Linked DNA regions of Homo sapiens: regions 1 and 2 are each linked to region 3. Evidence: promoter capture Hi-C in human tissues and cell types (Jung and others, 2019). All regions are on one chromosome and are shown on one strand. The core of a region is centred on a gene start or on the middle of the fragment in contact, and the rest is flanking DNA. Distances in the headings are between cores, read along the strand shown.

Region 1 (3,311 bases), core at 756-3,255, 330 kb after region 3:
TTATTTATTTATTCATCCATCTATACGTTCATAGAAAAGGATTTGGCTTATGATTGATGTCAGTATTTTGGGAGGCTGAGGCAGGCAGATTGCTTGAGCCCAGGGGTTTGTGACCAGCCTGGGCAACATAATGAGACACCGTCTCTACAAAAAATTAAAACAATTTAGGCCTGGCAGGCTCCTGTAGTCCTAGCTACTTCGGGGGTGGGGAAGGTGTGCTGAGGTGGGAAGATTGTTTAAGCCCTGGAGGTCGAGGCTGCAGTGAGCTGTGATTGCACCACTGCACTCTGGTCTGGGTGGCAGAGTGAGACGCTGTCTCAAAAAAAAAAAAAAGTAGGCCGGGCGTGGTGGCTCACTCCTGTAATTCCAGGACTTGGGGAGGCCGAGGCGGGCGGATCACGAGGTCAGGAGATCGAGACCATCCTGGCTAACACAGCGAAACCCCATCTCTACTAAAAATACAAAAAAAAAAAAAAAAAAAAAAATTAGCCGGGCATGGTGGCAGGCGCCTGTAGTCCCAGCTACTTGGGAATCTGAGGCAGGAGAATGGCATGAACCCGGGAGGTGGAGGTTGCAGTGAGCTGAGATCGTGCCACTGCACTCCACCCTGGGCGACAGAGCAAGACTCCGCTTAAAAAAAAAAAAAAAAACCTAAAGAAAAGGATTTGTAGAGATAAAGCTTCCCTTATCATGCCAAATGTAGCTAACAGTGGTTACCTCAAGAATTGGATTACAGGGAGCAATTTTTATTTTTCACATTATGTATCAATCATATTTTTAAAATTTTATATTAAGTTTGAAATACATGTGTAAACAATTGAAACAGTGAAAGAATACAGTAACATTTTTGCCTATAAGATGGGCAAAAAATTTAAAGGTTAAAATCTTGTATTGGTGAGACTATGCGGCAAAGGGACCACTCATTTAGGACTAATGAGAGTGTCAATTGGTGCCTTACTAACAAAAACAATTTGTCAATACCTCACAAAAGTTAAACTGTGCATACTGTTTTACCTAGGAATTTCACTTCAAGGATGCAATCCCATGGAAATACCTGCACAAGTAGGCAAGAAACAGGTACAGGTTGAGGCGGTGGCTCACGCCTGTAATCCCAGCACTTTGGGAGGCTGAGGCAGGTGGATCCCCTGAGGTCAAGAGTTCGAGACCAGCCTGGCCAACATGGCAAAACCCTGTCTCTACTAAAAGTATAAGAATTAGCCTGGCGTGGTGGCACACACCTGCAATCCCAGCTACTTGGGAGGCTGAGGCAGGAGAATCACTTGAACCTGGGAGGTGGAGGTTGCAGCGAGCCAAAATTGCACCACTGCATTGCAGCCTGGGGCGACAGAGGGAGACTCTGTCTAAAAAAAAAAAAAAAAAAGAAAAAAGATATAGGTACAGGTTGAGCATCCTTAATCTGAAAATCTGAAATCCAAAATGCTCCAAAATCTGAAATGTTTTGAGCACCAGTGTGACACCACAGGTAGCAAATTGCGTGCCTGACCTCACGTGTTGGGTCACAGTCAAGACTTTGTTTCATGTACAAATTATTTAAAATATTGTATAAAGTTACCTTCAGGCTATGTGTATAAGGTGTTTATGAAACACAAATAAATTTGCGTTTAGACTTGGGTCCCATCCCCAAGATATTTTAATATATATATATGTATTCCAAAATCTGAAAAAAATCTGAAATCTGGAACACTTCTGGTCCCAAGCAGTTTGGATAAGGGATACCCAAACTGTAATAATAAAATAACAACAGCTATCATTTATTAAATACATGGTACTGTTCGAAGTACTTAGGGATAAAGAAAGAGAAATGAACCACATCCACCTCATATAAAAGCTTTCCATGTGCCAAGTACTTCTCTGAGCTATTTGCATGTTCTGCCTTTACTTATACAGGGTTTACAACATCCCTATGAAGTGGGTATTTTCATTATGTCCAATTTACAGATAAAGAAGTTACAGCATAGAAAGAGGAAGCAACTCATACAAAGTTACACAGCTAGTGAGTAGCAGAGCCCAGGATCTGAAGCCAGGCAGTAGCTTCAGGCTCTGGCCTGGGACCTCTATGCACATAAGTTCGCAGCCCCTTCAGACAGAATGCTTTTGTGTTTTGTTGCTTGGATGGCTGGCCAGCACATTCAGCCCTTTCTATATTGGGTGGGAGGCAAAAGGCCAGATACTCACCGTCCCAGGCCTTAGGCCTCCTTGCTGCTAGGAGCAAGCATGTGACTTGGTCTTGGACGCAGCCAGGTGTGCCCACCGGAGACTCCAACACAAGGAAGTAGGGAGTGGGTTCTGGTTGCTGCAGGGAAGGCTGGTGTGCGGGTGGGTCACCATGCTGCAGAACCTCCCAGGGTCCAGCGCAGCTGGTGGTGCCATGGCAGCACATAGAACTTGAGGGGTAGAGGCAGTGTCCTTTGATTGGGATCTAGGACAAGAAAGGGCTCTCTGGCTGCAACCACTTCTGCCACTGGGGCCTTATGATCGAGCAGATCCAGTGATGCTTGGTGAGTTGGGGTGATCCATGGGATGAGGCAGGCAAGAGGCAGAAGGAGAGTCCCCAGGGTGACCCCAAATGATTGAGCCCAGCCCACTTCAGCAAAGAACAGTTCTCTTGAAAAACAGCCTCTTCTGAGCTTCTGGGTCCCAAGAGAAACCAAACATGAGAGGATGGGACACCAGGTGGCCTTTGACTCAAGCCTCCTTATGAACTGGGGATTATCTGATCCACCTAGCTAGCCCAGGAACCAAGCCCAGGAGCTCATCATCCTTAAGTAGAACTGGGTTGAGCCCGAAAGGAACCCTGAGAGTGAAGCTGCCAACAGCAGAGAGAAGCTGCGGAGTCGCCTGGCTAGCCCTGTCTTGCCAATACCCTCTCCCCTCAGTCCACCCTAAGAGCTTTAGAAGTTATACATGAAGACTACAGAGAAGAAAAACATTCTAGGCTGGGTTACAGGTGGCTGGCTCTCCACTATACACCATCATCAGCCAGAAGTGGTCTATTATTAAGAGATTAACAACAAGAATTTTAGAACCAGACTGTGTGTGTGAATTCCACTTCCACCAGTTACTAGCTTTATGAATCTGGGCAAGTAATTTAACCTCTCTGTACCTCGGTTTCCTCATCTCTAAAAGAGAGAAAATAAAATATCTATTCCCCTCATAGGGTGTTTTGAAAATTGCATGATGATATACATAAAGCTCTTCGAAAAGCACCCAGAACCTAACATACGCTGTGTTGTTGTTGTTGCAGCAATACAGCCCTTCTGAGAAAGTTCTAGAGAGCTGTTGAACAACAG
Region 2 (3,390 bases), core at 516-3,015, 380 kb before region 3:
TAACAGCAGTAACGTTTAATTACTAATGTCTATTGAATACTTATTATATACTAGATATGTGCTAATACTTATTATGTACTAGATTTGTGCTAAGCTTTTTACATGCATTATCTGATTATATCTTCACAACAACCCTATAAAGGAAGTACTACTACTACCCACACATTAAAGATGAGAAAACTAAGGCTTACAGAGGTTATACAGCATAACAGAGGTCACGAAGCTAAATAGAGAAATTTTTAAGTGGTTGTTTTTTTGGTGGTGTTTTACTGATAGATCATAGTTGTGCATATTTTGGGGTTACTTTTTTTTTTTAAGAGACAGGCGGGGTCTTGCTCCATTATCCAGGCTGAAATGCAGTGGGGCCATCATAGCTCACTGTAGACTTGAACTCCAGGGCTCAAACAATTGTCCTGCCTCAGCCTCCCAAGTAGCTCAGACTACAGGCATGAGACACTGCACCTAGCTATAATAACTATTTAAAAAATTTTTTAATTCAATTTTCCTCTTTATTGGCTTGGAAGTTATGTACTTTTAGAAGTTATCCTTGAAATTTTAACATGCATGATACATTAATTTAAAATTAACATAAAACCTAAATTTTAAATATTAATATTTTAACCACTCTTTTAGTTGTCCAGTATTTTTTTTTAGCCTCATAAATTAGATATCATCATCATCATTATTATTTTATACAGGTAGCACTTGTTTAGATTTACACAGGTGCTTACGAATTTCTTTGCTCACCGTTCCTTCCTGTATCTCAGACTTCCTTTCTGGCACCATTTTTCTTCTTCCTAAAGTAGAATTTCCTTAAGTGAAAGTCTGTTGGAGGCAGTTTCTATTTTGCTTATCTGAAATGTCTTTGTATTTCACCATCATCCTTGAAAGATAGTTTCTCTGGACATAAAATTCCAGGTTGATCATTCCAGGTTATCACATTGAAGATAGTATGCCCTCTTCTTCCAGCTTCTAATATAGCAGTGAGAAATCTATCTTTCTTATTGATTGTGGTTTTTTTGTAGGTGGTGTATCTTTTCTTTGGTCCTTTAAGATCTTCTCTTTTGGTGTTTTGCAGTTTTACTATAACATGACTGTGCATGAATTTATTTATTCTGTTTGGTATATGTTGTGCTTCCCATAACTGTGGTTTCATTTCTTAGCTTCAAAAATTCTCAGCTCTTAGGTCTCTAAGCACTTTGGCTCTCCTTTATTTTCTTTTTTCTTTCCTTCTAGGACTTCAGTCTTTATTTTAACCCCGTCTTTTAACCTTTTATATTTTCCATTTGCTTGTTCTCTGTATTGCTTTCTGGAGAGTTTTTGTTTGTTTGTTTGTTTCTGAGATGGAGTCTCACCTGTCACCCAGGCTGGAGTGCAATGGCACAATCTCGGCTCACTGCAACCTCCGTCTCCCAGGTTCAAGCAATTCTCCTGCCTCAGCCTCCCAAGTAGCTGGGATTACAGGTGCACCTCACCACGCCTGGCTAATTTTTTTGTGGAGATGGGGTTTTATCATGTTGGCCAGGCTGGTCTTGAACTCCTGACCTCAGGTGATCTGCCTGCCTCAGCCTCCCAAAGTGCTGGAATTACAAGCATGAGCCACCAGCCTGGCCTTTGGAGAGTTTTTAAAAAATATCCGGCTTCCTATTTACTAATTCAAACTAACCCTGAGATTTTGATTTCAACAATTTTTCATTAGTAGAAGTTTTATTTAGTTATTTTTCACATTTGTCTGGTGATTTGTGATTTTTTGTTTATTTTGTGATTATTTTATTTCTTTAAAAATGTCATATTTTTAGTCTGATTATTTTAATATGGGACAATATATGAGGTCCTTGATACCTGACAATATCTGAGGACTTTATTTGTCACTTCTTCCTTGTTTGTATGTTTGATGATCTTTGATTAAGAGGTTCACGTTTAACGTTTTGTGAATTTACGAGATTCTGGAGGCCTAAATTGAGGACATCTTCCTTCAGAGGGAAAGATCTGTTTCTGCCGAGAGCCAAGTACAGAGGGATTGTGGGAGTGCCACACAACTGGGAGCACATTTAAGCCTAGTTTCCCCACTTTACCTCAACCATCAAGTTTATTCCTGACCAACCAACTCCTGAATCTCAAGACTGATTTGGTAATTTGCCCCAGGGTAATTTGATCTTCATGTTATCTTTATTGCTCACCTCTTGGATTTTAATTTTGGTGTTTGGGGGCCCCTTGAAGATTATTTCTACTTTCCAAGACTCAATAATACATTAAAAATTAAGCTTATTCAAGACTTAATATCTGACCACCATACTGCCAGGGCTAGAGGACCTCTAATTCTATTTGTCCTGCTATAGCCAGGACAATCTTTAACATCAAGTGTAATGATATAACTCCCTCCCCTCATGCTTAAAAATCTTTCAAACATTCCTCTCAGCCTTCAGGATGGAATCCAAATGGCTAATGCAGGAGGATCGCTTGAGGCCAAGAGTTGGCCAGCCTTTGGGAACACAGCGAGACCTTGTCTGTAAAAACAAAACAAAACAAAACAAAAGTGGCTATTTACTAGTCTTTTCTTTTTTTTTCTTTCTTTTTTTTTTTTTTTTGAGACGGAGTCTCTCTCTGTCACCCAGGCTGGAGTGCAGTGGCGCAATCTCGGCTGACTGTAAGCTCCACCTGCCGGGTTCACGCCATTCTCCTGCCTCAGCCTCCGAGTAGCTGGGACTACAGGCGCCCGCCACCACACCCAGCTAAATTTTTTTATATTTTTGGTAGAGATGGGGTTTCACCGTGTTAGCTAGGATGGTCTTGATCTCCTGACCTCGTGACCCGCCTGCCTCGGCCTCCCAAAGTGCTGGGATTACAGGAGTGAGCCACCACGCCCGGCCCACTAGTCTTTTCTTTGGCCTCTTTCCCCTATTGGCCTTTGCACACACTGCTCTGTTGAAAAGAACCAATATTCTTCCTTCCAAAACTCCTCTTTGTAGTTAAGCGTTAAGTACAGGGGTCACATTTCCACATAACCTTCTCTAACATTGTTTACTTCTCCACTCCACCCTCTGGATTAGGTTCTGCACCTGGGTGTGCCCATACATACTTCTCTCATAACTTCTATTATATCATATTGCAAACAACTATTTCTCCTGACCAGACTACAAATTCCTTAAGGAGAGAATATCCCTTATGCCGCAAAAATATTTTTGAAAGCATAAATTTATGCTTAAAAGTAAATGTTAACCTGGCAAAAGTTCAGCTTGAGCCATAAAATATTCCTTAGACATCTCCAAATTTCCTGAGGGTCTGATCTTTGACTCAAGGTTGGGATTAGTTCCCTCCCCTGCCTGCCTCATGGCTACTCCAAGTCATATTTGTTTTTTTGGTTTTGTTTTTGTTTGGACACAGGGTATC
Region 3 (3,375 bases), core at 24-2,523:
GAACAGATGATATCCAGTGGGGGAGAGGGTGTTAGGGAGCAAAAGTGCTAAATGATGACTCAACCCAATCATCTAGCTCTTCCAATTCACCTGGCTTCTCTCCCCAAACCAGAAAATAAAACCCAAGTCCTACCCCCTGAACCACTTCTCTCCTCCCCCTCTCCCTCTCCTAGGCTGGACCGGGATCTCCATGGCTCAGGAGGGACATAGCACAGGACTGGATAAAAGGCCTTAGAACCAGTTAGTGATCTGCCTACACCTGAATCCCTGAAACATCTGAACTGTTTTGTAAATCATCTTATCCCCAACCTCAGTACCACCGGATCTTCACTTCTCAGTGGGATTTTGTCCTTTGCATGACCCTACTTTCAGCAGGGCTTTGAGGCTGGGAAACTGATCTGCTGGGTGACTTTCATTCCAGTTGCTGGGACGGAAGGCTGAATGTAGGGTCATTTTGTATGGGATATGCAGAGCTCTGGGTTTTTTTGTTTTTTGTTTTTTGAGACGGAGTCTCGCTCTGTCGCCAGGCTGGAGTGCAGTGGTGCGATCTCGGCTCACTGCAACCTCCGCCTCCCGGTTCAAGCCATTCTTCTGCCTCAGCCTCAGCGAGTAGCTGAGACTACCGGCGCACGCCACCACGCCCAGCTAATTGTTTTGTATTTTTAGTAGAGACGGGGTTTCACCATGTTGGCCAGGATGGTCTCGATCTCTTGACCTCGTGATCTGCCCGCCTCGGCCTCCCAAAGTGCCGAGATTACAGGTGTGAGCCACCGCGCTCGGCCAGAGCTCTGGGTTTTAATCCTACTTTAGCTGTAGAACCTTGGGCAAATAACTTCATCTTTTTGGGTCCTAATTTTCCTCCTGTCTAACTGGAGGGACTGTGATCCTTCCACCTTGGATGGAAGAGGCTTACCTGACAGCCAGCCTGCCTGCTGGGAGCCAGGAGAGTCAGCTCATTAAATCTTGAAGAACCGCTGTATGCCCTTTTTCCTTCTAAGTCATGTCTGCTGCCTGTGAGCCTGGGAAGGAGTGCTTTCAAAACCTGTATTTTTGCCCTCTTTAGTAAATTTAGAACTGTAGAGGCTAATAAACTGCGATGAGACATTTAAGCTCTGCTCCAAAGAAGTGAACGACTCTTTCACCACCCCTTGCATCCCAAACCTTCGGTTCTGGCAGAGTTCTTGCCGCAGAGGTTCCTTAGGAGCACCCCGCGCGGCCCGCGCGAGCGCGCCTGCGCGTCGAACCCCACCCCCTTCCCCGCGGGCCTCGGTTCAAACGACCCGGTGGGTCTACAGCGGAAGGGAGGGAGCGAAGGTAGGAGGCAGGGCTTGCCTCACTGGCCACCCTCCCAACCCCAAGAGCCCAGCCCCATGGTCCCCGCCGCCGGCGCGCTGCTGTGGGTCCTGCTGCTGAATCTGGGTCCCCGGGCGGCGGGGGCCCAAGGCCTGACCCAGACTCCGACCGAAATGCAGCGGGTCAGTTTACGCTTTGGGGGCCCCATGACCCGCAGCTACCGGAGCACCGCCCGGACTGGTCTTCCCCGGAAGACAAGGATAATCCTAGAGGACGAGAATGATGCCATGGCCGACGCCGACCGCCTGGCTGGACCAGCGGCTGCCGAGCTCTTGGCCGCCACGGTGTCCACCGGCTTTAGCCGGTCGTCCGCCATTAACGAGGAGGATGGGTCTTCAGAAGAGGGGGTTGTGATTAATGCCGGAAAGGATAGCACCAGCAGAGAGCTTCCCAGTGCGACTCCCAATACAGCGGGGAGTTCCAGCACGAGGTTTATAGCCAATAGTCAGGAGCCTGAAATCAGGCTGACTTCAAGCCTGCCGCGCTCCCCCGGGAGGTCTACTGAGGACCTGCCAGGCTCGCAGGCCACCCTGAGCCAGTGGTCCACACCTGGGTCTACCCCGAGCCGGTGGCCGTCACCCTCACCCACAGCCATGCCATCTCCTGAGGATCTGCGGCTGGTGCTGATGCCCTGGGGCCCGTGGCACTGCCACTGCAAGTCGGGCACCATGAGCCGGAGCCGGTCTGGGAAGCTGCACGGCCTTTCCGGGCGCCTTCGAGTTGGGGCGCTGAGCCAGCTCCGCACGGAGCACAAGCCTTGCACCTATCAACAATGTCCCTGCAACCGACTTCGGGAAGAGTGCCCCCTGGACACAAGTCTCTGTACTGACACCAACTGTGCCTCTCAGAGCACCACCAGTACCAGGACCACCACTACCCCCTTCCCCACCATCCACCTCAGAAGCAGTCCCAGCCTGCCACCCGCCAGCCCCTGCCCAGCCCTGGCTTTTTGGAAACGGGTCAGGATTGGCCTGGAGGATATTTGGAATAGCCTCTCTTCAGTGTTCACAGAGATGCAACCAGTAAGTGTTTGGTGATGAGCCAGGGTCTTTGTTGACGGATCTGAAAAGTCCTGGTATCTAAAACCCAGTTGCTAAGCCAGCCAGTGTTGCTTACATGAACTGTTACTGACTTACCTGGTTATTGATTCATAACATGCATTGGTTATTCACATTGTTAGCCATTGATTCCACCTATTATTTATTGAGCAACTACTGGTTGGTCATTAGGTAAAATGTCTTACTGCTCATTAGGTGATTATTGACCAAATAGTTAAGATTGGAAATATTTTTTTTTTTCAAGACAAGAGTTTCACTCTTATTGCCGAGGCTGGAGTGCAATGGCGTGATCCTGGCTCACTGCAACCTCTGCCTCCCAGGTTCAAACAATTCTCCTGCCTCAGCCTCTTGAGTAGCTGGGATTACAGGCACCCACCACCATGCCCGGCTAATTTTTTTTTTTTTTTTAGAAGAGACAGCATTTTACCATGTTGGCCAGGCTGGTCTAGAACTCCTGACCTCAAGTGATCCACCCGCCTCGGCCTCCCAAAGTGCTGGGATTATAGGCATGAGCCACCATGCCTGGTCTTGGAAATTCTCTGTTTTTTTCACAGACAAGATCTCGCTATGTTGCCCAGGCTGGTCTTAAACTCCTGGGCTCAAGCAATTCTCCTGCCTCAGCCTTCCAAAGTGCTGGGATTACAGGCATGAGCTACTGTGCCCCTGACCATAAGACTTTTTTTTCGAGACAGGGTCTCTCATCACTCAGGCTGGAGTGTGGTGGCGCAGTCACAACTCACTGCACCCTCCATCTTCTGGGCTCAAGCAATCCTCCCACCTTAGCCTGCTGAATAGCTGGGACTACAGACGTGCACCACCATGCCTGGCTAACAAGATCTCGCTATGTTGCCCAGGCTGGTCTCCAACTCCTGAGCTCAAGGATCTGCCCACCTTGGCCTTCCAGAATTCTGGGATTACAGACATGAGCCACTGTGCCCGGCCCATAAAGTCTTTTTGATGCACA

Evidence for each region. The method cuts DNA at HindIII sites, captures the fragments that hold promoters and counts their contacts. A contact is called where the count stands out against the background at its distance.
Region 1: a contact is called between a fragment that was not itself captured here and the fragment with the promoter of C1orf56 in region 3, in 1 of the 25 tissues and cell types used here (hippocampus).
Region 2: a fragment that was not itself captured here is called in contact with the fragment with the promoter of C1orf56 in region 3 in 1 of the 25 tissues and cell types used here (hippocampus).

The regions. Positions count from the first base shown.
Region 1 is chr1:151,379,240-151,382,550 of GRCh38, forward strand. No RefSeq gene overlaps it. Among named protein-coding and RNA genes, the nearest start is that of SELENBP1, 8.2 kb to the left of the region's middle. The HindIII fragment of the contact is 4,780 bases long and covers 1-3,311 here.
Region 2 is chr1:150,665,024-150,668,413 of GRCh38, forward strand. All of the region lies in intron 2 of GOLPH3L (golgi phosphoprotein 3 like), which reads right to left. Among named protein-coding and RNA genes, the nearest start is that of GOLPH3L, 30 kb to the right of the region's middle. The HindIII fragment of the contact is 6,824 bases long and covers 1-3,390 here.
Region 3 is chr1:151,046,478-151,049,852 of GRCh38, forward strand. C1orf56 (chromosome 1 open reading frame 56) reads left to right here and starts at 1,274. Exons shown (of 2, transcript NM_017860.5): 1 at 1,274-2,375. The coding sequence starts at 1,371. It overlaps BNIPL (BCL2 interacting protein like), which reads left to right. Exons shown (of 10, transcript NM_138278.4): 10 at 174-1,243. The coding sequence ends at 210. RefSeq lists enhancers at 1,602-1,651, 1,932-2,171. The HindIII fragment of the contact is 7,874 bases long and covers 1-3,375 here.